7 separate regions of the Homo sapiens genome follow, and regions 2, 3, 4, 5, 6 and 7 are each linked to region 1. Evidence: promoter capture Hi-C in 16 types of primary human blood cells and fetal thymus (Javierre and others, 2016). All regions are on one chromosome and are shown on one strand. The core of a region is centred on a gene start or on the middle of the fragment in contact, and the rest is flanking DNA. Distances in the headings are between cores, read along the strand shown. Region 1 holds the start of TMX3 (thioredoxin related transmembrane protein 3). Region 2 overlaps RTTN (rotatin). Region 3 overlaps RTTN (rotatin). Region 4 overlaps RTTN (rotatin). Region 5 has its middle 8.3 kb from the start of CD226. Region 6 has its middle 96 kb from the start of DSEL-AS1. Region 7 overlaps RTTN (rotatin).

Region 1 (3,266 bases), core at 98-2,597:
TAAAATATTAGAATCACATGCAAATATTCAGATATCTGAGTTGGACAGTTAAAATAATATTTTAAATATATATATGTATACTCACGATTCATCTAAATCTTCTACAAATCCTTTACAGACGACCATATCAAGTACAACAACTGAAAAAAAAAGACAAAATGTACACAATAAATGCTGATTATTTGGCTCATACCGTATAAGCTTAGTCATCTCTGAAGTGTTTTTGACCTTTCACAACCTACCAAAAAATTCATCACTGATGCATCCCAGGGTGCAAATGATGCAAAAGCAAAGGTAGTTCATCCATTTAATAAATATTTAGTCTGTATGCAACCATATCGTGACCGGCCAAGTTCTAGGTAAGCCAATAAATCTAATACACACAGTTCCTTTTTCCTCCATATTTTCACTCTCATCTTACGTCTCTTTTTAACCATCCTATCTTTTTGGAATACAAATAGACAGCATTCTTCTTTATTTCTTTTGCTTTAGTAGCAATTACCTCTTCCGTAAAAACTCCAAATGCCATTCAAAATATTTCCCCTCAAATAGATACGTAGGAAGAAAGTCGAGCTGCAACTCTAATACTTATTACACGGCAGTGCCTGACACAGAGTGGGCTCTAAAAGGTTGTTAAGTGAGCGGACCCCAGTGAGAATGAGGGCACTCCATGCTGACGGGAGGCAGCTGAGAACCGCTGACACACACTCAGGTCCTTTTCACACCGCACAATCCCGGCGGCCTGACCCTGATCTGTCCTCGACCACCCTCTCTTGAGTACTGGTGGTAAAAATCCTTAAACGTGACAAGACTCGGAACCTAAAGCCAAGGCAAGATTTGGTCGTTAAGCTGGGACGGCGGCATCCTTCTTGCCCATCAAAGGAGTAAGCTTTATTGAAACTTCTGCCACAATGAGAAAAACACAAACACAAGGCAGCGCGCCCTTCCCACGTCCAGCATTGGTCCGGCACAGCGGCGGCGGAAGGACCCCAAGGTGTCCGCTCCGTCAGGGCCAGGCAGGGTGGCGCGGCGGGGGCGGCAGGACGCTGCCGGGAATGGGTGGGCATCTCCACGAACCCCGCAGGCCTCGCCCCAGACCCGGGTCCAATCCCGGCCCCACGGCGGGGCCAGGTCCCACGCGCCCGCCAGCGTCCCGACCGCTGAGCCCCCATTACCTGTGGCGCAGAGCCGCAGGGCCGTCCAACTCTTCCACGCTGCCATGCTAGCCCGGGAGAGCTGCAGAAGCTGACTGTGCAAAAGAGGGATAAAGACACTGGGGTCCGCCGCCTGCCCGCCCGGAAAGGGAAACGGAGCCGACCCGGAGCGGAAGAGAAGCACCGCGCTAACTACGGGGGCGGGGCTACCCGGCCAGTCTCCGTCTCCGGCTATGCGCGGGAGTGCGGCGCATGCGAGGGGAGTGCGGCGCATGCGACAGCGCCTGCGCAGTCATGTCTTAAGAATCCTTTGCGCTCTCGGTGCCCCCCTCCACGCCCAGGAGCGTGGGAACCCTGCTTAAGGGCTTTACTAGGGAAAACGGTGCTGGTTCACTGGGGCGCGTTTCCGGGAAGGTGAATACCGGTGAAAGTTATGCTGAGGGTGAGGTAGGCTCTGACGACGCACTTGCAGGTTGAATACTGGCACATCATTTACTTGTTACTCCCGTGTGGTGAGTGCACCTGTGGGTTTTGATGCTGGATCAAATTCCTGGAAAGAGGCGCGCATTAAGACTGCGGATTGCTGAGCTGCGCGACACTCCGTATTTTTCCAAAACGTATTTGTAATATTCTTTCAACCTGTTTGCATAATGGGACATCTCTTAAATGCAGCAAGCTTTAATGCATTTTTGCCAAAGTAAGGATTGCCTCTTTAAAAACTTTCTCTTGAAACTTGAGAACATGAAGTTAAGCGTAGGATATTTTTTGATGGCTCTTTTCTGATTATTTTGGAACTAGATAAAGTAGTATGAAATATTTATATTGCTACCTGTTTTTTCTTCTATACGACAATGATTTGTAAAAACCATATACTTTTATAAGACGGTTACTGCAGCAATCACTACTTACGAACTAGATGAAATTTTTATGGGACATAAGGTACCAGAGAATTTAGATCAAACCAAATTTTGAAAACCTGTGACAACAACAGAAGGGGGATATGATGTCAGCCGGTTCACCTTAGGTTCAAAATTCCAACAGGCAAAAATGTCATAAAACGTCGTTATTCCTAGTGACTAGAAGATTAAATTGCACTCTAATTGAGAGCAAGCCCTAAATGTCACCCCCTTTGTGCATGCAGCATGGTATCCAGCGCAAGCCCTCTACAGATTCAATTTTTCTTTTTCTTTCTCTTTTCCTTTTTTTCTTTTTTTTTTAAGAAAAAAGTAGACTAAAACGTAAGGGGACTGTTGAAATGATGGGAATGTTCTCCCGGTGGTGGTGGAACAGCTTTATAATAGTACCATCGCCTCGATACTCTTATACAGAAGCTTTTCTACTTTCTTGGCAAGGTCTCTGAATGACCCATATTCAATTTTTTTTTTTCATTCTCATGTATTTCAAAGTTTTCTGTCTTCCACAGCATGCAAAGTGAAATAATTTCCTCTTATATTTGCGTTACAGTTTAAGTTCACATGTGGACAACAACAAAAGCCAGTTGACCTAGATCTGTGCTTTTCAGTAGTGTAGCCACTAACCACATGTGGCTATTGAGCTTTTGAAATGTGCCTAGTGTGATGAAATAACTGAATATTTATTTTTTTTAATTTCAGTAAACTCAAAAACTGACACTCGATTCAGCTATTGGAAAGTTTTTTTAATGTGGTTGGAACAACTGAGGTATGTGAATCTACTTTTTCAACTGTAAATTTTATGAAATCTAAATACTGATCAAGTCCCAGGCATGGGTGGCTCATGCCTATTATCCCAGCACTTTGGGAGGCTGAGGCAGGAGGATTGCTTGAGGTGAGGCGTCTGAGACCAGCCTGGTCAACACAGTGAGACCCCATCTGTACAAAAAATTAAAAAATTAGCCAGATGTGGCCTGGCGCGGTGGCTTACACCTGTAATCCCAGCACTTTGGGAGGCCGAGGCAGGTGGATCACGAGGTCAAGAGATCGAGACCATCCTGGCTAACACAGTGAAACCCCGTCTCTACTAAGAATACAGAGAATTAGCTGGGCGTGGTGGCAGACACCTGTGGTCCCAGCTACTTGGGAGGCTGAGGCAGGAGAATGCATGAACCCAAGAGGCCGAGCTTGCAGTGAGTTG
Region 2 (3,623 bases), core at 1,084-3,583, 1.4 Mb after region 1:
ATCAACAAGACAAAAAAAAATAACAGATGCTGGCAAAGATGTGGAGGAAGGAGAATGCTCACACACTGTTAGTGGGAATGTAAATTAGTAGAGTCATTATTGGAAACAGTATGGAGTTCCTCAAAAAACTAAAAACAGAACCTACATATGATCCAACAATCCCACTGCTGGGTATATATCCAAAAGAAAGGAAATTGGTATGTCAAAGAGATATATGCACTCCCATGTTTATTGTAGCACTATTCACAATAACCAAGATATGGAATCTACCTAAGTGTCCATCAATAGATGAATGGATTTTTTAAAATGTGGTATAAATACACAATGGAGTATCATTCAGATGTAAAAAAGAATGAAATCCTGTCACTTGAAACAACATGGATGGAACTGGAAGTCATTACGTTAACTGAAATAATCCAGGCACAGAAAAACAAACATCACATGTTCTCCTTTATATGTGGGAGCTAAAAAAAAAAAAAAATGATCTCATGGAGATAAAGAGTAGAATGATGATTACCACAGGCTGTAAAGGATGGTGGGGAAGGGGGGAATTAAGAAGGGATGGCTAATGGGTACATAAAAATTTAGATAGAAGGAATAAGATCTAGTGTTCAGTAGCACAATAGGGTAAAAATAGTTAACAGTAATTTGTTGTATATTTCAAAATAACTAGAAGAGCAGATCTGAAATGTTCCTAACACAGAGAATCAATAAATGTTAGAGGTAATGGACATCCTAATTACTCTGATTTGATCATTATACATTGTATGCTTATATCAAAATATCACATGTACTCCATAAATATGTACTATTATATACCCATAAAAATAAAATAAACTCCCCCAAATAAATAAGCAAGCAAGCAAAGTGCTGTGGGATATAGCTGAAGGAACTCCTAAGAGAATGGGGAACACAGTTCCTTCAAAGAAGCAACAATAAAACTGACAGCCAATGTTCCTACAAAAAAATGGACTCCAACTGCCAACCTAGAATTCTATACCTAGTGATAACATTTTTTAAAACAGAAAGAATTTTTAGATTAAAAAAAAAAAAAACCTGACAGAAATCATTGCTAATATAAGTGCACTACATTAAATAATAAAAAACTCTTAAAAAAACAAATTCTCAGATGGAGGCAGAAAAACCAAAAAAGCAATAAAAAGTAACAGAAACGACCACGGTATACAAATCTAAATGACTATTTACTGCATAAAATAATTATAATAACATCTTATAGAATTTAAAATATGTATAGAATTTAAATACCTGACAATAAAAGAAAAAAAAAAGAAGAGCAAATAAATGGAATTAATGTGTTCTAAGGTCCTTGCATTGTCTGGGATGTGGTAAAAATACTAGTTCACAGTCAAGGAAGTAAATTATAATCTCTATATTATAAAAGAATAATCATCTGTATAAAATATATAGAAATAATGTATATAGAAGAATACTTAGCTGGGCACAGTGACTCATGCCTGTAATCCCAACACTTTTGGGAGGCTGAGGTGGGAGAATTGCTTGAAGCCAGGAGTTCAAGACTAGCCTGGGCAACAAAGCAAGATCCCAATCGCTACAAATAAATAAATAAATAAAATACTTAATGTATATGTAACTACAAGTTAACAGCTGGAAAACATGGACTAATTTTAAAAATTAATCAAGAAAAGCCAGAGAGGAAAAAGAAAGAAAAAAACCACATTGGACAAATAGAAAATAGCAAGCTAATAATCTGTATCCAAAAATATTAGTAATTATAGTAAATGTAAAATGCATTAAAATATTCCATTAAAACTGTAAATAATGTCAGATTGGACAAAAAAACTCAACTATATACTTCTTAAAAAAAAAAAGTACATTTAAGGACACAGAACAGCTAAAACTACAAGGATGGAAAAATACATATCATGCTAACCACTAACCAAATAAAAGCTGGGGAAGCTACAGTCATAAGAGATCGAGTGAATTCTATATGATGAAGCACTGCTAGAGATAAAGAAATAATTTCATAATGATAGAGACAACCCACCAGCATGTTTACAAACTAAATTACATGGCCTCAAAATACATTGTCAGCCAGAATGACAATGTCATAGTGGAGATTTTAACATGCCTCTCTGCTACCTGAAAGAACTTCACACACATATAATAAAGTAGACACAGGGAAGATCTGAACACTATCAATAAACCTGATATATTTTGAGACTTATAGAACAGTATATCCAACAACTACTACATATACATTATTATTTTCAAGTACACATGGAACATTTTAAAAAGCTGACCATATGCTGGGCCATAAAGTAAAATTCAACAAACTCTAAAGAATTAAAATCATAGAAAATATTTTCTAATGTCAATATTTAGCTAAATATTAATAATAAAATAACTAGAAAACCTAATAAACTAAATCTTCACTAGTTACCCCCAATAACTCTAAACAACCCTTGCATCAATAAAAAAAAATCACAAAACACTTAGAAAATATTTTGAACTAAATAATAAAATATGGCATATCAAATTCGTGGAATATACCAAAAGCCATACTTAGAAACATTGATAGCTTTAAATGAAAGGGCGGCTAATAATCAATGGCCAATCCTCCAGTAAGTTAGAAAATGAACAGAAAATTAAGTTTGAAAAACACAGAAGGAAGAAAATAATAAAAAGCAAAGAGTAATACATCAGGACCACTTTGAGATACACTATACATCCATCAGATGGGCAACAATTTTTTAAATGCCAACATTACTGTGAGTAAAAGAGTAATAAAACCCTTTCTCCTCTTTACGGACAAACATGATATTGAGGTAACTCTCTGTCCCTTTACCCAGTAAAATCAGATAGATATGGAATGTCAAGAATTTACTAAGCTGCTTTGCTTATGATGAAAATGACTCCCCACATCTGGACTGAGACATCTAGGAATAAACTATAAATGCATGATGGGATGTCACAGCTCTGAGCAATCTTGAGTGCTGTGGCTCTTATAAGCAACCTGGAAACTATGCCTACAGCACACTTACTAGAGAACATATTTTCTATTTGGGACATGAGGCTTCCAAGCCAAGACAGCTCCCAGCACCCACAAATGTGATCTCATTCTAAGCATGACTACTGCAGTCGTGTGAGTTTCATTATTTAGCCAAACTAAACACCATTAAGACTGGTAATGCAAATACCAAAGGCTAGTGAGGATGTGGGGCAGCTAGTACTTTTCCACTGATGGTAGGAATGTAAATCAGCACAACAACTTCGTAATACTGTCTGGTAACATCTACTAAAGCTAAACATAAATATCCTATATTCCAACAATGACACGTGTTCAAGAATGTTCTTAGCAGTCATTTCTTCATAATAGCCCAAAACAGAAAACAAATTAAACATCCACAAATAGAATGGTAAATAAAAGTGTTGTATATTCTTAGACAGAATACTACATAGAATAAAAATGAACCAACTATTGATTGCTTCATGCAGCAACATGGACAAATCTCTCCAAGTTGAGCAAAAAGCAATATAATAATGCACTCTATTTATAAAGTTCAAAAACTAGCAAAAATAATGTACAGCAATAGAAATTAAAATAGGATTACATTTTGGGGTGGTAGAAGGTAATGAGAAAG
Region 3 (3,410 bases), core at 653-3,152, 1.3 Mb after region 1:
CTCTAGAATCTATGAGAAGTTCTAACCTTCACGTGGCTTTTGAGGTCTTACATCATAATTTTTATCCTCTCAATTTTCCTACTAAACTCAATTTCCCATTGCCAGATAATCAGACCAGTCCTCCCTCTCTATTCCCTGCGCTGCCAATGACTCTCTCATGTCAACAAACACACTAAAATATCTGTCTGCTCTCATAATACCTACGAGAAAGCTTGCCTTTGCCCATCATATCCTCAATAAATCAGAGAAATACTTCAAAATATGTATTAGTTTTTCCAGTCCACCTTAACAACATTTATAAAACTAGTATTTTGGTATATTATTGAAAGGCAGTATTGGATCCTATTACCATTTGGAAAATTTGCAGTATAGACACAAAGGAGCTGCAGAGAAATTTGCATCAATGAATCATCCATCAAAATCCAAGGCCAGAGAGAGTGCAAGACAGGGACAAGGTGAGCTTCAAGAGCTGCTTCCTGTTGAAGGAAGGGAAAAAGACAGCATTAGTCTGAATATATGAAAATATAACATTAAAATCAAAACAACAACAGAAAGCCATCAACATAAGACCCAAGGAGAACCCTGTGGATGGCTTCAGCATCCTGCCCCAGCCCCATTGGGCTCCACACATGGCTGCCCTGACCACGAGCCTGACCAATCTCAGGACGTCGCTTCAACACCAGGGTGGTTAAGATGTACCACTAAGTTAGGAAGCATAGAAAATAGCCTGTGTAACATGTAAATTAAACAGCAAAGTGATATCTCACAACACTGAATAAATTCCTGTAAATGCTATGAACTGGCCAAGAAGTGAGAATTTCTGGTTAAGTAAACATTCTGATCAACTCTGAGTCCTCTTTGCCCACCCTCTCTCCCTCTCCTTCTCTCTCTCTGTGTATGTGTGTATATACTCAAAGTAAATTACAGTTTTTGAGTAATTTGAATATATAAAATTCAGTCTAAATATTATGATAAATTGAAAAATTCTGAAGTAACTCAGAGTCTTTATTACAAAGATCAGTTACCCTGGGACAATATTGCAGATAAAATATAGCTGTTTAAGTGCAGCAATATCTATTTTAAATGAACAAGAATTCCGAGGTAATTTGTAGACCCATGATTATGCACGTGAGCATGCACATAAATACACACACCCTATACGATTTCACATAGCATCAAGTGGCAGAAGAGAAGTGATTCCCAATGTTCAACACTCTCCGTAAGCACTGAAGTCATTCCCAGTGCTCTCCCTAAAGTTCTTCCCTTGTTCACCACTCTCTGTGGCACACGGCCCTCCATCTGCAGCAGATGACCTTGTTTACTATTTCACAGAGAAGACAGAAACGATTAAGTACAAACTCCTTTATCTACTCTGCCATTCTGTCCACATAGTTTATCTGTATTTTCATCCATTCATCCTTCCTGTCTGCCCGGTAGTGACAAAGAGGTGTTCCACTTCTTGCCTGCCAGAGATTGATACATCCATCTGTGTTCTGAAACACAGCTCTTCCTGCCTCCTCAGGGATCTTAATCCACCAGTTAGTTCTCCTCTTGCTATCTCTTAAACAACTCGTCCCCAATTTGCTCATTTCTGTGCCTGTATTCAAGTAGTTTACGTGTTAAGAGAAACAAACATACTCATTTCCTTTCATCTTATATGTCCTAAATTATTAATGCCACTATTCATGACCAAACTTCTACATTATTATTGCTGTAATTTCCCTGCCTCACATTTAATCTTTAGCTCATTACCGTTTATTTTCTGCCCTGATGATTCTATTGAGGCCGCTTCTACTTTTGTGGTTGCCAACAACGCTTAAGCACGGTGGCATTTGCTATATGTCTCTTAATTTCCCCGCTGCTGCTCTATCCTGGATCATTTCTGATAAGAGTCTGGATATTTGTCCCTGCCCAAATCTCATGTTGAATTGTAATCCCCAGTGCTAGAGGTGAGGCCTGGTGGGAGGTGTTTATATCTTGGGGGCGGATTCCTCATGGCTTGGTGCTTTCCTCAAGACAGTGAGTGATCTCATGAGATCTGGTCATTTAAAAGTGTGTGGTACCTCCTCGCCAGCTCTCTCACTCTTGCTCCAGTTCTAGTAATGTGATGTGCCTGTTCCCCTTTTGCCTTCTTGTCATGATTGGAAGTTTCCTGAGGCCTCCCCAGAAGCAGACGCCACTGTGCTTCCTCTATACCCTGCAGAACTGTGAGCCAATTAAACCTCTTTTCTTTAATAAATTACCTAGTCTCAGATATTTCTTCATAGCAAGGCAAGAACGGCCTAATGCAATCTCCAAATTCCTTCTCCAGTATTCCCTTCTCAGTTGTTTTCTGCCCCCTCTTAAATGTTCCTGTTTTCCAAAGATATGACCTTGGTTTTCATTACATACTTTCTTGGGAAATTTCAACAATAGTGAGGACCACAAACACCATCTACACATTGATAACTCCTAATATCCCCAGCTTGTATCACTCCTTAGAGTCCCAGACCCATAAAATCTACAGGCCACAAGCCATTTTTCACCTGGATGCCCCAAAGACTCTTGAGGCTAGCACGTGCAAGCATGAATATCGGGTCTCTCACACCTGTGCTCTGCTCTATCATGCACTCTTAATGCATGATAATGCAGTGGCTTAAACTGGAGTTTGGAAGTCATTCTACATTCCTCCTCTTCTCAATGCCTCAAATTTACTCCCTACCCTCCTTCTCCTTTCTACCTGCTCAAGTTAAGGTGTCATCATCTCTTGTCTGGACTATGACAGTCCCCTCCGTCTAACCTTGTCCACTGTTTAATTCATTTACCTCACAGCCACCATGCTCCTTCCAGTATGAAAACCCCTAATGTTATGCATATGCAAACAGCAGGGTGGGGTGGCAGTGGGTGACCTGGTGAATTACCCAATAGTGGCCAACTATTAATAATGAGAACATGCCATACACCTGATAAAAGCTGAAATTGAAATTAACAATCCCTACCTCCATAATATTATATTTATACTCAAGGATAATCTTAATATTCTTTGGATTTACTTCTTATTAAACAACTTAGAAATACAGAAATGCTTTGACTTATTGAGATATCACACTTTTGTAAATGGCTAATGTGATACAAATTGAGCACAATATTTATAACTAGTAGCCAGGTTAGCACTTCATAAATCTTTATAGGTAGATCCCACATGTAAAGTATTCCAGAGTATTTCCCTGAATAAGGTGTCATGAATGAATATTAACTGCACATACACATGAAATTTATATATTTAAATTTACACACAAATACTGACTGTACATCCAGTCACAAGCATAATATCATAAGCATGAAGGAATCATTAAGTTTATTAATGGCACTTTTGTCTTGAGAAAAAGTTCATATAAATTCATATATAGGGAATTTTAATAAATTGTATA
Region 4 (3,394 bases), core at 706-3,205, 1.4 Mb after region 1:
ATTTAATTTCATTATATGACACTTAAGTGTTGCATGTCTATAATTTCCAGATCCTTTTTATTTTTTTCAAAATTGCTAAGCTTCTCCAATAATTTTCCACTCTTCTGAAGGTAATAGATACTATAACCTTTTCTCTTTTATATTTTCAATCTATACTCGAACAAATTTGATTGAAAATGAGGGTGCTGTGTACTGAACTGTGTCTCCTCAAGACTCGTATGTTGAAGCCCTAATCCCCAACCTGTATTTGGAGACAGAGCTATTAGGTGATTACAGTTAAATGAGGTTATAAGGGTGGGACCCTACTGCACTAGGAATGGTGGCCTCAGGAAGGAGAGAAATCTTTCTCCATGTGCGTGCTCCAAGGAGAGGTCATATGAGCACACAGTGAGAAGGTGGCCCTCTGTAAATCAGGAAGAGTGCCCTACCAGAAACCAACCATGTTGACACTCTGATCTTGGACTTGCAGCCTCTATAACTGTAAGAAATAAATTTCTGTTTTTAAGCCACCCAGACAATGGTATTTTGTTATGGAAGCCTGAGCACACTAATACAGATTTTTGTACCAAGGAGTGGGGATGCTGCTGAAACAAATGCCTAAACACATGAAAGTGACTTTGGCACTGGGTAATGGGTTACAGGCTAGAAGAGTTTTGAGGTGGATGCCAGAAACGTAGACATGGGTAATTCTCATGAGATCTCAGACAAAAATGAGGAAAGTGTTATTTAAAAAAGGTTATTTGAGGAAAGGCAATCCTTGTTATAAAGTAGCAAGAAAACTGGTTAAGCTGTGGTCATGTTCTAGTGTTTTGTGAAAGGCAGAACTTGTGAGCAATGAAATTGGATATTTAGCTGAGAAGATTTCTAAGCAAAGTGTTGAAAAATTGGCTTGGTTCCTCCTGATTGCTTATAGCAAAATGCAAAGGGAGAGAGATGAATTAAAGAAGGAATTAAGAATGGGTAAGCAAAAAGAAACAAGAACAAGATTTGAAAAATTCTCAGCCTATCTGTGCAAAAAAAATGAGAAAGCTTGTTCTAAAGAGAACATGGAGGGTGTGGCTGAATACCCATTTAAGAAAAAGATCACGGGTGCAATTCATGGACTTAATCAGACATCTCAGCAGAAGCCAGGAATAGAGATGGGATTATATCAGCAAAGACATTGCCAGTTTGAACTAAAGAGGACAGAGAAAGATGCAGAGAATGAAGGAAAGCTGTTGGACTTCCTGGATTCTGTAAGCAAATATGTGCTACAGTGGTCCCTCCCTTATCCATGGGGAATACATTCCAAGACCCCCAGTAGATGCCTGAAACCACAGATAGTGCTGAGCCCTATAACTACTATGTTTTCTCCTACACATACATATCTATGGTAAAGTTTACAAATTAGGCACAGTAAGAGATTAACAATAACTAAAAATAAACTAGAACAATTACAACAATATGTTATAATACAAAATACATAAATGTGGTCTCTCTCTCAAAATATCTTATTGTATTGCACTCAGCCTTCTTGTATTGATGTGAGATGATACAATGATTACATAAAGAGATGAGGTGAGGTGAATGATGTAGGCATTGTGAGGGAGGGTTTGGCTACTACTGATCTTCAGGGTGCTTTTGGAAAATGAAACCTCTGATAAGGGAGGACTACTGTATTCTTCAATGAAAAGAATGACCCAAAAAATGATTCAGAGATCCCCAGGCTGCTAATCCCACCACAGGACTCAAGGGTGGCTTTTCCTCCTTGGTTTCAAAGACCTCTGATTTCTGTGGGCCAGAATGATGACCCTGCCCAGTGCTTCAGGAACATGGCTGCCCTTGAAGACAGCTTTATGGGCGGGGCTCTTGAAGACAGCCAAAGGGGTGGGGTCATCCCACAGAGCCATCTAGACAGATGCTGTCACTCTGGTGGGCCTGTAAGGCACACCATCAAGCCAAAGAACATTATCCTTGAGCATTAACATCTAATGAAATTTGCTTTGCTAGGCTTTGGACTTGCTTGGGACCCATCACTTCTTCCTTTTTTTCCTATTTCTCTCTTTTGGAATGGGAATGTCTATTCTACCATCATCTTTTGGAAGCATATAACTTGTATGGGTTCACAGGTTCACACCTGCAGAAGAATTCTGTTTCAGGAGGGTTTATATCTGGAGACTTACCCAGATGTGGTTTAAATGACATTTAGATGAGATTTTGGACTTTAGACTTTACAGTTGATTTGGGAATAAGTTAAGACTTTTGAGGTTGTTGAGGGAGAATAAAAGCATTTTGCATGGAAGAAGAACATGAAGTTCAGGGGCTCAGGGATGGAAAACTATGAACTGAATTGCGTCCCTCCAAAACTCATATGTTGAAGTCTTTATGCTCAAGTGACTACATTTGAAGACAGGGTTTCTAGGAGATAATTAAGGTTTAAAGAGATCATAAGGGAGTGGTCCTATCTCAATAAGACTGGTAACATTATAATAAAAAAAAAAAGACAAATCTGTCTCTATACCACCCCTCCCTCCCCTGCCCCACATGCATGGACCAAGGAAAGGCCACGTGAATACACAGCAAGAAGGCAGCCGTCTACAAGCCAGAAGAAGAGCCCTCACCAGAACTTGACTATGCCGGCACTCTGATCTTGGACTTTCAGCTTCCAAAACTTCTATGAGAAAAGAAGTGTCTGTTGTCTAAGCCACCCAGTCTGTGGTATTTTGTTATGGCAGCCTAAGCTAAAACAGGGCTTAAATAAAACATAAGGTAGAGTCACTACAATAATCCCATAATATAACTATGTATATGTATATATGTTTTGTGTCTTTTTTTTTTTTTTGAGATGGAGTCTTGCTCTGTTGCCCAGGCTGGAGTGCAGTGGCACAATCTCAGCTCACTGCAAGCTTCACCTCCCAAGTTCACAGCATTCTCCTGCTGCAGCCTCCCAAGTAGCTGGGACTACAGGTGCCTGCCACCACACCCAGCTAATTTTTTTATATTTTTAGTAGAGATGGGGTTTCACTGTGTTAGCCAGGATGGTCTCAATCTCCTGACCTCGTGATCTGCCCACCTCAGCCTCCCAACAAGCTGGGATTACAGGCATGAGCCACCGCACCTGGCCCCGTGTCATTTGTTTTTTAATCTAAACACAATACACTTGATTCTCCTTCACACTCACCTCTGGGTCCCGATCAACCCATAATGGAATCAACCAAGCCAATCCTTGTTGAGTAGGAATATGTTCTTCACTATGACTACCCAAAGGCAAGAACCAAAGTGACATCCACTCCTAGAGGGAAAAAAGGGAAACAGAAATATTTGAGGTAAGTTTCTAAAAATAAAATGCAGGAAGGTTAAAACAAGAATTTTTAATGAAAACAACGTGAAAATGTATTTTAGACTTGGTTTTAAT
Region 5 (3,705 bases), core at 191-2,690, 1.2 Mb after region 1:
CAATAATGCAAAAGATCATGATAGTCGAGGTTGTCAGATAAATGATTTAAGATATTTTTAAAAATCATTATGTGCTTATTAAACAAATGCCAAAACATATCTATTTTCTGAGGGAGGGGTCAGGGTTGGGTAAAGTGGGGTAGAGGTGCAGGTAGAGAGGTAGAAGGGCTGAGGGCCAAGCAGGCATCTGCAACACCGTGCTGCCTCAAATCCTAAAGGAAATGAGATGAAACCTAGCATCATCCACTCTCGGTGGTTTCTATGATCAGGCCCAAAGTGAACTTCCTCACCCAGGATAAAGAAATGAGGTTCATGGGAGGAGGACTGGAAAAGGGGTACTAACTGGTAATAACTTGTAGGAACTCCTTATTCCCAAGGCATCCAGAGCCAACTAGTCAAGAGATGAAGAGAACTTGTGTATTTGCACCCTGGAATTGAGGGTCCTAGAGGTCACAGATTCGAATGAAAGGGGCAGAAAGACTTGCAGCTGAAGACAAAGTCCAGCTGTTACGACTTTGCTAGAGATGAGCCCTATTTATCAACATCTAACCAAAGACAAATAGAGACAGCGCTTGAGCTATTTTTGTTGTGTCAGCAGCCATTTTTTGCATGATTTATGAAGGGATTTTGGCTTGAGGTTTTTTTTCTAATAGAGCTGTCTGTATAAAAGAGCTTTGTCCTCAAGGAAGTCATTAATCAAAATATTACTGGATTTCTCTACTATTAAAAATGTCTCAGCTAACCACATGAGCATGAATTCATCTCACAAGCTTGCCTCTGAATGCAGACTCCTAGGTGGCCTGGGTGGGTGGGGACGGGGAACACTCTTCAGCCACACTGTTCTTCTTCCTGTAGGCTGTCCACCCAGGTAGAACCTTCCCTGTCACCTCAGTTTCATTGTTTCTGCTACCTACAATATGTCCTGCTTCCCCAGATGTCTCTATGGTTTCTGAGCATTGGGAGGAGTCTCCTAGTGTCTACTCAATGACCCCACCTTCCCCAGTTTATGCAAAAACACCTGATGTGTGTGATGGAGAATCTGCTCTGATACCTTTCGACACTTGCTTGGAAAACTATTCACATGCTGGAAAGCAGAGGACTGTGAACAGAAAATCTAGCTAAACTCAGAACAAGTGACTGGGGCTGGGAAGATTATAGTGTGAGAGGTCGTTTGCTCCCTCCACTCCTTCTCAGATGCGAGGGTTTGCCTGCCTTCTGCTGGGATGCCCCAGCTGTTAAGAGGCTCATACTTCCAGTAAGATTTCCACAGGAGGCCGGGTGCGGTGGCTCACGCCTGTAATCCCAAAGTGAAGGCCGAGGCGGGCGGATCATGAGGTCAGGAGATCGAGACCATCGTGGCTAACACGGTGAAACCACGTCTCTGCTAAAAATACAAAAAATTAGCCGGGTGTGGTAGCGGGCACCTGTAGTCCCAGCTACTCAGGAGGCTGAGGCAGGAGAATGGCGTGAACCCAGGAGGCAGAGCTTGCAGTGAGCCGACATCGCACCACTGCACTCCAGCCTGGGCAAAGGAGCGAGACTCCATCTCAAAAAAAAAAAAAAAAAAAAAATTTCCTCAGGAACACAATAGTCTGGGTTTCTGCTCCCTTCCTCAAATAATCTCATTAAGAGAACCTTTCCAATGTGGGCCACATGGTCTCCTCTAGACCACGATACCCTTAGAACCTTGGCAAGTCATACACATGTCCCCAGGAGTGAGGCTACTGCTGAGTGACCAGTAGAACCCCACTTCCAGTCAACGCAAAGACTCCAGTTGGGGTTCAGCAGGGATCCTCTAAGACAGGGTTCTGAAACTATGGCCTGAGGGCTGGGCGCAGCCCACTGATTTCCATAAACAGTTTGGTTGGAGACAGCCATGCTCACTTGGTTACATACCATCCACCGCTGTTTTTGTGCTGCAATGCTGGAACCAAGAGGTGTTAGGTCACAACTGACAGACACCACACGGCCCACAAAGCTGTAAATATTAACTATCTGGCCCTTTACAGAAAAAGTTTCCCAACCCTTGAGTAGGATAATAAATCTTTGGATCATGGACATTTATTATTTAAGTTCATCCTTGTTCAGTCTTGCTGGAGAGAAGGAAGATTTAAGCTTGACAGACCAGATGCCGGTAAAATTAGCTCAGTTTTCTTATTCTCAAGAACTTTACGATCAGATCTATTATAAATACAATTCTAGAGACAGACTGAGAAAAAGTACTTAACTGGCACCCTTTTACTACAAACTGCACCCCTCATTAAACTAACAGTTCACAGAACACCGAGCACTTAACTTACTCCAGCTTTTTCCGGCAACTCTCTTGTCCTGCTGCATCAACTTGCCATGGTTTCACTGGCAGCCCCCACCCTTTCGCACACGATTCATTTAAAAAGTTGAGCTCAGACACATCCAGTCTTTTTTCTGAGAAGGTTACTAACCTTGAGATGTGAGTGCTGCTCGCTCTAACGCTTCTTCCCATCTGCGTCTTGGTTAAGGACTTTTATCGTATCCTGTTTATCGTGGCCTCCTAGCCTCAACACCCTCTTGGTCACTGCAAGCTCCCCGCTGCTCCCTCCCTTAATTAGCACTGCAGGAGCTGAGGGGAGCGTTCAGCCCACTCAGGAGCTGACTCTGCCCATGCTCTTGAGCTCTTCTCTCTACCAGAACTTCCTCAGATAGCAACTGAAGTGAATCACTAATATTTCATGAAGCGGGGTTTTTTGAAGTCAAGTTTACCTGCTTCTGGAAGCAACTTTACTATTGCAGCTACTCAGACTCATTCCAAACTCAGATAAAGTTCTGTCCCTCTTTTCCCCCAAAGAATCTATAATTTGAAAGGACGCACTTCTCCTTTGTTCTAGCTCTAAATAGAAACTACACTCCCCGCCGAAATCAGTTTGTTTCTTTGCCTTTTCTTCCTCGTGTTTTTTCCTGCCAATCAAAGCACATTAGATTCAGCCCTCTTTTTAAGTCAAGAGGCTTCCTTATCTCTGCCCATATCTAAGTATGTTTCGGTCTTACTTTCTAGATACTCTTTTTTTTTTCTTTGTCTCCCATTCTCCGACAGAAAAAGTACACAAGTCGGTGTTTCCTGAGAACGAACCCTGCATGTTTAGCAGCTTTTGTCTCTTAGAAACACTAGGTTTTTTGCTGCACCAGGCCATGGCAACGTTAGTTTTATTGATTCCTTTGATTTATTAGGTTATGGAGGTTCCCTGCTGGTTAAACCACCATGAAGGATTGTGGCTGAGGCTTTAGTGTGTAAAATTCATAGAAAGACTAGGAAGGAAGGACGTTTGACAGGTGAGAAGGCACTCATGGGGCTGCCCTACCCTGCACATTTAATTATGCATCGCAGGTACAGGACTGGTCTCTTCTGCTGGACCACCGCATATACGAAAGCAAGGGAGAAGAAAGTGCAATACTGCCTCTCAAGACACAAGTGTTTACTAAGACTTATTGTGGGCCAGAGGTAGCCAGAGTAGCCTTCTCAAACACCTGCCTGACTCTCGTCACTCCCTTCAATGCCTCACTGTCCCCAAGAGAATATCCAAATGTCTTACTGACTTGCAAGGCCTGCGTCATTGATGACTGCCATTTTCCCAGTGTTATGTCTTATAAGTCTTCTGCTCACTCCTAGCCTTTATTGCTCATCCAACTTACATTGTGTAATTTGAGGACAATGCTCTAATGGGGCAGGGC
Region 6 (3,541 bases), core at 37-2,536, 1.3 Mb before region 1:
CAACCAACTAATGGCTTAGACATGTCTCTCAAGCATTTGCTTTTTATTCTTAAAACTTTCATAAAGTCAAGTTTTAAAAAGTTAAATTACAGAAGATTTTGAAGACATTGGTATAAAACACTGAAGCCAAATTGCTAATTTTGCCATTTGTTCACCAATCAACTTAATTTTAGTAACAGATTTTTGTTACCCGCTTTATAATAAATTATAATCAGGTAATTTATAGAAAATCTTGATTTTTTTTGTTCAGTATAGATATTTGCATTAATTTAAATTTTTTAAATTGCATTGATATATCATTTATCTTGATTTCTGAGTTTTTTGATGCCCCTAAAATTTGGTAGTCAAGGTGACCAGCTCATTTGCTTCACCCTATTGCCAGCCCTGTCCTAAACAGCTATTTCTAGTGCAGAAATAATTGTTTTGAATTTGAAAAGACAGAAGCTTGATTGCTGCCAGAGAATTGCTTGATTTAGGCTGCAGGTGGCATAAATCAGTATTTGATGAAACCTAGGTTTAAATAGGAATGAGCAGAGTAATTGGCACCTAATTAACATCAGTGATAAGATGAAGCAGCAAGACTATTCTTGAATGTGTAGAATCCCAGGGTTTTTATGAACTCTGCTGCTGTTTGTTTGTTTGTTTGCTTGCTTGTTTCTAATCTAAGTACTCTTGAATAAAGCTTGACACACTTAATTTCTATTGATACATTGGCTTATTTGTCATATTCTAGTATTCTATTTACCCAAATCTATGATATTGTTTAGATGCAAATATTTAATTTGAGGTATCTTCAGCTATTATCCTATTGATGTGAAGTAATTTTCACCATGCATATTATATTATGGTATTGTAGCTTCTATACCTCAAATTTGATTGACAAAATATATTCATTAGGATTTAGATTAGGCTGTTGTTGCAAGATAAATACCTGAGACTGGGTAATTTCTTTATAAAGAAGAGAGGTACGATTGGCTCATGGTTCTGCAGGCTGTACAAGCATGGTGCTGCTGGGATTCTGGGCTGCTGGGCCTCAAGGAGCTTTTACTCATGGCAGAAGGTGAAGGGGAAGCAGGCACGTCACATGGCCAAAGCAGGAGCAAGAGAAGTGGGGGAGGTGCCACACACTTTTAAACACCCAGACCTCGTGAGAACTCATCAGTATCACCAAGGACAGCATCAAGAGAATGGCCCTAAACCATTCGTGAGAAATCTACCCCCATGATCCAGTCACCTCCCACCAGGTTCCACTCCAAAACTGGAGAGTGAAATGCAACATGAGATTTAAAGGGGACACATACCCAAACTGTATCAGGATTGAAATCATGACGGATTTTTTCCTGTTGATATTATTGACCTCACCAAATTCTCATAATTCAGCATTTTTTTTTCCATTTTCTCACATGGAATGCGAAGCAGCATCTCTGGGTCATGAATTTTTTTTTTCTTTAATATCAGTTTCTCTGTGAGTACCTAAAACTTTTCAAGGGATCTCACGTAGCTTCTCAAGAGCTAAGCCAGATAAAACTACTTAAAATTATAAATAGCAGAATTACTTAATACAAAAGTAGTACATGCTTAACTTAGGGAGAAAAAAATGTGCATATCAGGAAACAAAAAGATAAACTTCACATATATAATCTCAAACCCAAGAAGAACAGTATTTAGATTTTAGTATTTTTTGTTTTACAAAAAAGGAATAGTAATTACATATTCCTGGTAACATAATTATTTTCCTAACACTTTATACAATAAAAATTATAATAAATTATATTTCTCTAATTATTGAATATTTAATCTATCCATATCAATTATATATTTTTTTTTAGTCTTACAATAATGCTACAAGAGCTAAACCTTTGTAAAATTGTTTCATATACATTTCCTAGGATAAGCTTTTAGAAATTTAGGAGTAGAACCATATGCTTATTTTTAAAGGTTTTTTTTTTTTTTTTGAGATGGAGTCTCACTTTGTCGCCCAGGCTGGCTTACAGTGGCACGATCTCGGCTCACTGCAACCTCTGCCTCCCAGGTTCAAGCGATTCTCCTGCCTCAGCCTCCTCAGTGGCTGGGATTACAGAAGACCACCATCACGCCCGGCTATTTTTTGTATTTTTAGTAGAGACAGGGTTTCACCATGTTGACCAGGCTGGCCTCGAACTCCTGATCTCAGGTGATCTGCCCGCCCCGGCCTCCCAAAGTACTGGGATTACAGGTGTGAGCCATCATGCCTGGCCTCATTTTTAAAGCTTTTGATAAGAGATTTCAAATTGTTTTTCTTTTTTTTTCATTACATAAATTTATGGGGTACAAGTGCAATTTTGTTACATGCATAGATCATGTAGTGGTGAAGTCAGAGCTTTTAGCATATTCATCAGCCAAATAATTCATATTGTACCCAATAATTTCTTATTGGGTTAAAGTTTGTATCAATTTACACAGTGTACACTAAGGGCCATTCTCCTCAACTCTTAATCAAAACTAAAAATTAACACTTATTTTTATTTTTGTCAACTAGATAGGTGAAATATTTTTAGTGACTGTGCTATGTGCACTTATTTTATGACTTAGTAAACTGATCTTTTTTTTTTTTTTTAAGTACACTCAGCGGCCATTTCCATGACTTTATTGGAATATGCCTTTTCTGGTACTTTTACAGTTTCCTATTGGGAAGATATTTTCTCATCAGTTTTAAAAGTCTTAAAGAATTAACTATATGAATTATTTTGTATATGTTGCAATAATTTTTCAAGACTTTTTTTTCCTTTTTAATTTTAGTGTCGTTCTTTATGTAAGCTTCTTATCCTTTGCATGAGTCATATCTATTGGTATTTTCTTTAGTTTCTGCTTTCATCCTTAGACTTGAAAAAAAAAAGCCTTACAAATTTCATAAGTATATAAATCTATATTAGTGTCATTTGTTTCTCAGTTTATATTGAATCTCTTTGTTATTTCACTGATATTTTGAGATAAAGTGCTGACTTTAATTCACACATTTATCTTAGTTATTCCAAAAATATGTATTCCAACACTTCAACTTTGTCACCATGTCCTAAAATTTTGCTTAGGTGTACAAGACAAAGAGGAAATAGCTTAGACTCAGGGGTGCAACTAAATTCAAATCCCAGAGGTACTACTTACATGTTAGGTGGCTTTGGATACTTCACCTTCTAAGTCTCAATTTCCTCACTGATAAAACTACAAAGGAACTACATATCTATTTATGAGGTTGAAATTATCAGTTAAAATAATACAACTAAAATGTTTAGCCCTGTTTGGATGTCTTATAATTCATCTGTGAGTATTATAATACCATCATTCCTATTAACTCTATAAATTTTGTTATAATGTATACATCAGTAACTCTAACATGCTTACTTTCCTGTATATACATAATCATTTTTAATTCATAATGTTTAGGGTGGCTTTATGTGTACAGAAAGATTAAGCAGAAAGTACAAAGAGTTCCCATATACCACGGTCTCCACACTCACAACCTCGCATGTAGACATCCCAAACCACAGTATAACATTTGCTACAA
Region 7 (3,437 bases), core at 454-2,953, 1.4 Mb after region 1:
TGAATCAGTAAATTATTTTACTTATTAATGTTACAGTACGGAAAATGAAACACAGGCAACATACACACAAGATATCCTTAAACAAGGAGGTTTAAGACAAAATTATACTAGTTAGGATAACTAGAAAAGATTCCATATCTTGGGAGTTACAGCAGTTTTTTTAAATGGCATTTCCACTTCTTAAAGGAATTGTTATCATTTACATAAATCAGTAACTCAAAGGAGCAGTATTGACTTCAGGCCCATTTAGGAGTTTAAGGTTCCCATAAGGCCAATTCCCTCATTGCCCAAATGTTAGAAAGGCTAAAATATACCACCTTAACTATAATTTATTGTGATATTTTGCATTTCTTGATTGACAATAAAGATATTTTTAATGTTCCAAATGGCACATATAAATTTTAATAGTGCCTAAAAAATTAGAAGTATTAAAAGATTTTTCTCTACCTCACCTCCTATCAAGGAAGAACACTAAAAAATTGTGCCAGTTTGCTGAGATTGCTTCAGAATACAACATTAAATATAACAAAATCCGTGGAAAGCAAGTACAATTTCACCTACAGGTTTATAATGAGCAGACCGACCTTCTAAGACTGAAAAAGCGCAAAGTGATGTGTTTGCGCTAAGAGGTGTTCAACTAAGCACCTCTTAGTTGAAAAACACTTATGTGGTGAGGTCAGATAACTCTTTTCCTTACCATCAATTTCTCTTCTGTGAAGTAACATGAAGTGCCCATACCTGGGTAGCCTCCATATCAGTACATGCAACACAACATTAGCTATCCATAGAAGTTATAAACCATCATTCCAGACTCAGATCCTATATAGCTCACAGTATTTGTACATTGATTGTGTATATATCTTAACACTTAGAGTACCTTAGAATTACCATGATGAAATGAAAGCAAAAACTAAGGTTATTTTCATTTGCAGTTTCTAATAGTAAAGAGAATATAAATTTGAAGAAATTACTAAAAATGGAATATACAGTTTTTTAAATCCCCCTTTTAACTTGAGCCCTTAACCATCTTTCACCACATTAAGTAAGTATAACAGTCATGATGCCAAGAAATAAGTGAGAAAGCTGCAGCTAAAAAATGTAGGCTAAGCACATAATCTAAAAAGTAAATCTGGAAAAAAGTTCAGTCTAAATAAGTCAATCATAAACAAACATCAAATGCCTTATTTTATATAGTATTAGATCCAGATACTAAGTAAAAATAACCTAAAGCTTGTTTATTTTTTTTTTTTTTGAGACGGAGTCTCACTCTGTTGCCCAGGCTGGAGTGCAGTGGCACGATCTCGGCTCACTGCAAGCTCCGCCTCCCGGGTTCACGCCATTCTCCTGCCTCAGCCTCCCGAGTAGCTGGGACTACAGGCGCCCGCCACCACGCCCGGCTAATTTTTTGTATTTTTAGTAGAGGCAGGGTTTCACTGTGTTAGCCAGGATGGTCTCGATCTCCTGACCTCGTGATCCGCCCGCCTCTGCCTCCCAAAGTGCTGGGATTACAGGCGTGAGCCACCGCGCCCAGCAAGCTTGTTTATTTTTAAAAATATATTTGCCTACAATTTGGCAATGAGAGATATGTGAAAAAATGTTCCTGTCAACAGATATCAAGACAACATTTATAGTTCTGTGAAGAAAATAATCCTATGCCAAGACTGATATCACAAACTATGCACAAGCTAATATATCTGGCTCCTGCCACAACTCTTTTGGTTGTATAAGAAAAGTTAAGGGGATAATGATGCTGAAATCCTTTATCATTTCACTGAACATTCTTTCAACTGATAAAGACTCAAGAAGGCCTTATTACTGATATAAATAGAATAGGTACCTGGTTTGCGGTTTCAACGATCGGTGTGGGAAAAGAAAGCTTATAAGGGCCCACTAAATACCTGGCTCATTAGAAGAAAGCAAAGTTGTGATTCATGACAAAGGTCAGGCATTAATAAAGATGTGATTTTCCTTAGTATAGTCCACAGAAGGGATACACAAGTTTAGAAAAGATGCTTTTAGAAAGTACCTTATTGTATTATAACTTACCCCATGTGGTTGGGGAAACACAATGATTGCTTTATATGGTGCTTTAAAATTGATTATGGATGATTTATATTTCTACTAGCCTCTATTTTTTAAGTGTGCTAAACTAATATATTGCTATTTTAATAACTAAAAGCAAAAAAGTATTAAAGCAAATTGTCCCAGTTCTATGCTCAAATCTTTGCTTGTTTAGATATAATCTCCAATCGATAGTATTTGGTTACATTTGATAAAGTACATCGATATGTAAACATGTTACTTTTCACCTTAAAATCCAAGTAATAACTAGACAATTTTGGCATTAAGTATTAGCTACTGGAAGGTGCAGTATGAGCCTACGAAGCTATAGGTACAAAAAGCCTGACCTAGTCCACGTCCTCATTTAGAGAAAAGGACCACAAGTTAAGGGATTTGTCTGAGTTGAGACTAGGATTCTCAGTCCAGAACTGCATTCATGACAGCATAAATTCGTTAGAATCAGAGGAAGTCCTCAGACGTACCTCTTGAGAAAGCTGGCTGGCCTTGTTTGCGAGGAGAGGCTTGCTTCTTTCTCCCTGATCCCCCTGTGTCCCCGCGGAACTTCAGCTAGACTAACTTCAGCTGCCCCATCCCAGGTGAAGGAGGAGGAATTGGCTTAGTTTAAGAGCAAACTTAGTCTGCTGAAGTCATCCGTTCCTGTCAAGCTTCTCGCTGCTCTGCTCTGTACCTCACAGTAAGTAGGATAACTAGGGTTGTCCTCTTACAACAGCGAGAGTCTAATTCTTGTATCTATCACTTGCTCAATTCATTAGAATGGTCTAAGTGCAAAATCACAATCTAGACTTTTCCCTCGCTTTCACATCTGCCACATGACATATCCTGAGATCTTCAATTTATAATCCCTCGGTAAGACAAAAAAATCTGAATTTGAATATATTTCTAGCCTTATTACTTTACAGATATTACAAAAGACAATACAAGCTTTTTAGAGCAGGCTGATGCTACTTAAAGGTACTGTCCTAAAACAGACTCAGATTAGTGTAATGGATGTTGCTAGGGGATAGGAGCTGGGGAAAAGGGGAGATGTTTGGTCAAAGAGTGCAAACTTTCAGATAAGATGAGTATGTTCTGGGGATCTAATGTGTAGCATGGTGAATATGGTTAATATGGTCTAATGTGTAGCATGGTGAATATGGTTAATATGGTTAATAACACTGCACAGTCTACTTGAAAGAGAGTAGTTCTTAAGTGTTCTCACCACAAAAAAAAAAGGTTGACTCTTAGGTGACAGATGTGTTAACTAATTTGACTGTGGTAATCATTTCATCACATATACATATGTCAAGTAATCTCACTGTATATCTCAAATATATACAATTTTATTTGTCATTTTAGCTCAAAACTAGGGGAAAATA

Evidence for each region. The method cuts DNA at HindIII sites, captures the fragments that hold promoters and counts their contacts. A CHiCAGO score of 5 or more calls a contact.
Region 2: a contact is called between a fragment that was not itself captured here and the fragment with the promoter of TMX3 in region 1, in 1 of 17 cell types (M2 macrophages). The highest score is 6.3, in M2 macrophages.
Region 3: a contact is called between a fragment that was not itself captured here and the fragment with the promoter of TMX3 in region 1, in 2 of 17 cell types (M0 macrophages and total CD8 T cells). The highest score is 8.3, in M0 macrophages.
Region 4: a fragment that was not itself captured here is called in contact with the fragment with the promoter of TMX3 in region 1 in 4 of 17 cell types (total CD4 T cells, naive CD8 T cells, M2 macrophages and 1 more); the score reaches 7.1 in total CD4 T cells.
Region 5: a fragment that was not itself captured here is called in contact with the fragment with the promoter of TMX3 in region 1 in 5 of 17 cell types (activated CD4 T cells, non-activated CD4 T cells, M0 macrophages and 2 more); the score reaches 10.3 in activated CD4 T cells.
Region 6: a contact is called between a fragment that was not itself captured here and the fragment with the promoter of TMX3 in region 1, in 1 of 17 cell types (naive CD8 T cells). The highest score is 8.4, in naive CD8 T cells.
Region 7: a contact is called between a fragment that was not itself captured here and the fragment with the promoter of TMX3 in region 1, in 6 of 17 cell types (total CD4 T cells, M2 macrophages, naive CD4 T cells and 3 more). The highest score is 6.3, in total CD4 T cells.

The regions. Positions count from the first base shown.
Region 1 is chr18:68,713,761-68,717,026 of GRCh38, forward strand. It overlaps TMX3 (thioredoxin related transmembrane protein 3), which reads right to left and starts at 1,348. Exons shown (of 16, transcript NM_019022.5): 1 at 1,176-1,348; 2 at 86-140. The coding sequence starts at 1,221. It also overlaps a transcript of CCDC102B not described here. RefSeq lists silencers at 996-1,095, 1,276-1,405 and an enhancer at 1,606-1,675. The HindIII fragment of the contact is 941 bases long and covers 888-1,828 here.
Region 2 is chr18:70,130,106-70,133,728 of GRCh38, forward strand. All of the region lies in intron 23 of RTTN (rotatin), which reads right to left. Among named protein-coding and RNA genes, the nearest start is that of RTTN, 74 kb to the right of the region's middle. The HindIII fragment of the contact is 5,288 bases long and covers 1-3,623 here.
Region 3 is chr18:70,024,373-70,027,782 of GRCh38, forward strand. It overlaps RTTN (rotatin), which reads right to left. Exons shown (of 49, transcript NM_173630.4): 44 at 350-476. Among named protein-coding and RNA genes, the nearest start is that of CD226, 78 kb to the left of the region's middle. RefSeq lists silencers at 625-674, 685-744. The HindIII fragment of the contact is 3,387 bases long and covers 210-3,410 here.
Region 4 is chr18:70,088,950-70,092,343 of GRCh38, forward strand. It overlaps RTTN (rotatin), which reads right to left. Exons shown (of 49, transcript NM_173630.4): 30 at 3,161-3,271. Among named protein-coding and RNA genes, the nearest start is that of RTTN, 120 kb to the right of the region's middle. The HindIII fragment of the contact is 1,856 bases long and covers 1,028-2,883 here.
Region 5 is chr18:69,954,314-69,958,018 of GRCh38, forward strand. It overlaps a transcript of CD226 not described here. Among named protein-coding and RNA genes, the nearest start is that of CD226, 8.3 kb to the left of the region's middle. The HindIII fragment of the contact is 1,345 bases long and covers 769-2,113 here.
Region 6 is chr18:67,419,037-67,422,577 of GRCh38, forward strand. No RefSeq gene overlaps it. Among named protein-coding and RNA genes, the nearest start is that of DSEL-AS1, 96 kb to the right of the region's middle. The HindIII fragment of the contact is 1,213 bases long and covers 681-1,893 here.
Region 7 is chr18:70,065,926-70,069,362 of GRCh38, forward strand. All of the region lies in intron 34 of RTTN (rotatin), which reads right to left. Among named protein-coding and RNA genes, the nearest start is that of CD226, 120 kb to the left of the region's middle. The HindIII fragment of the contact is 341 bases long and covers 1,534-1,874 here.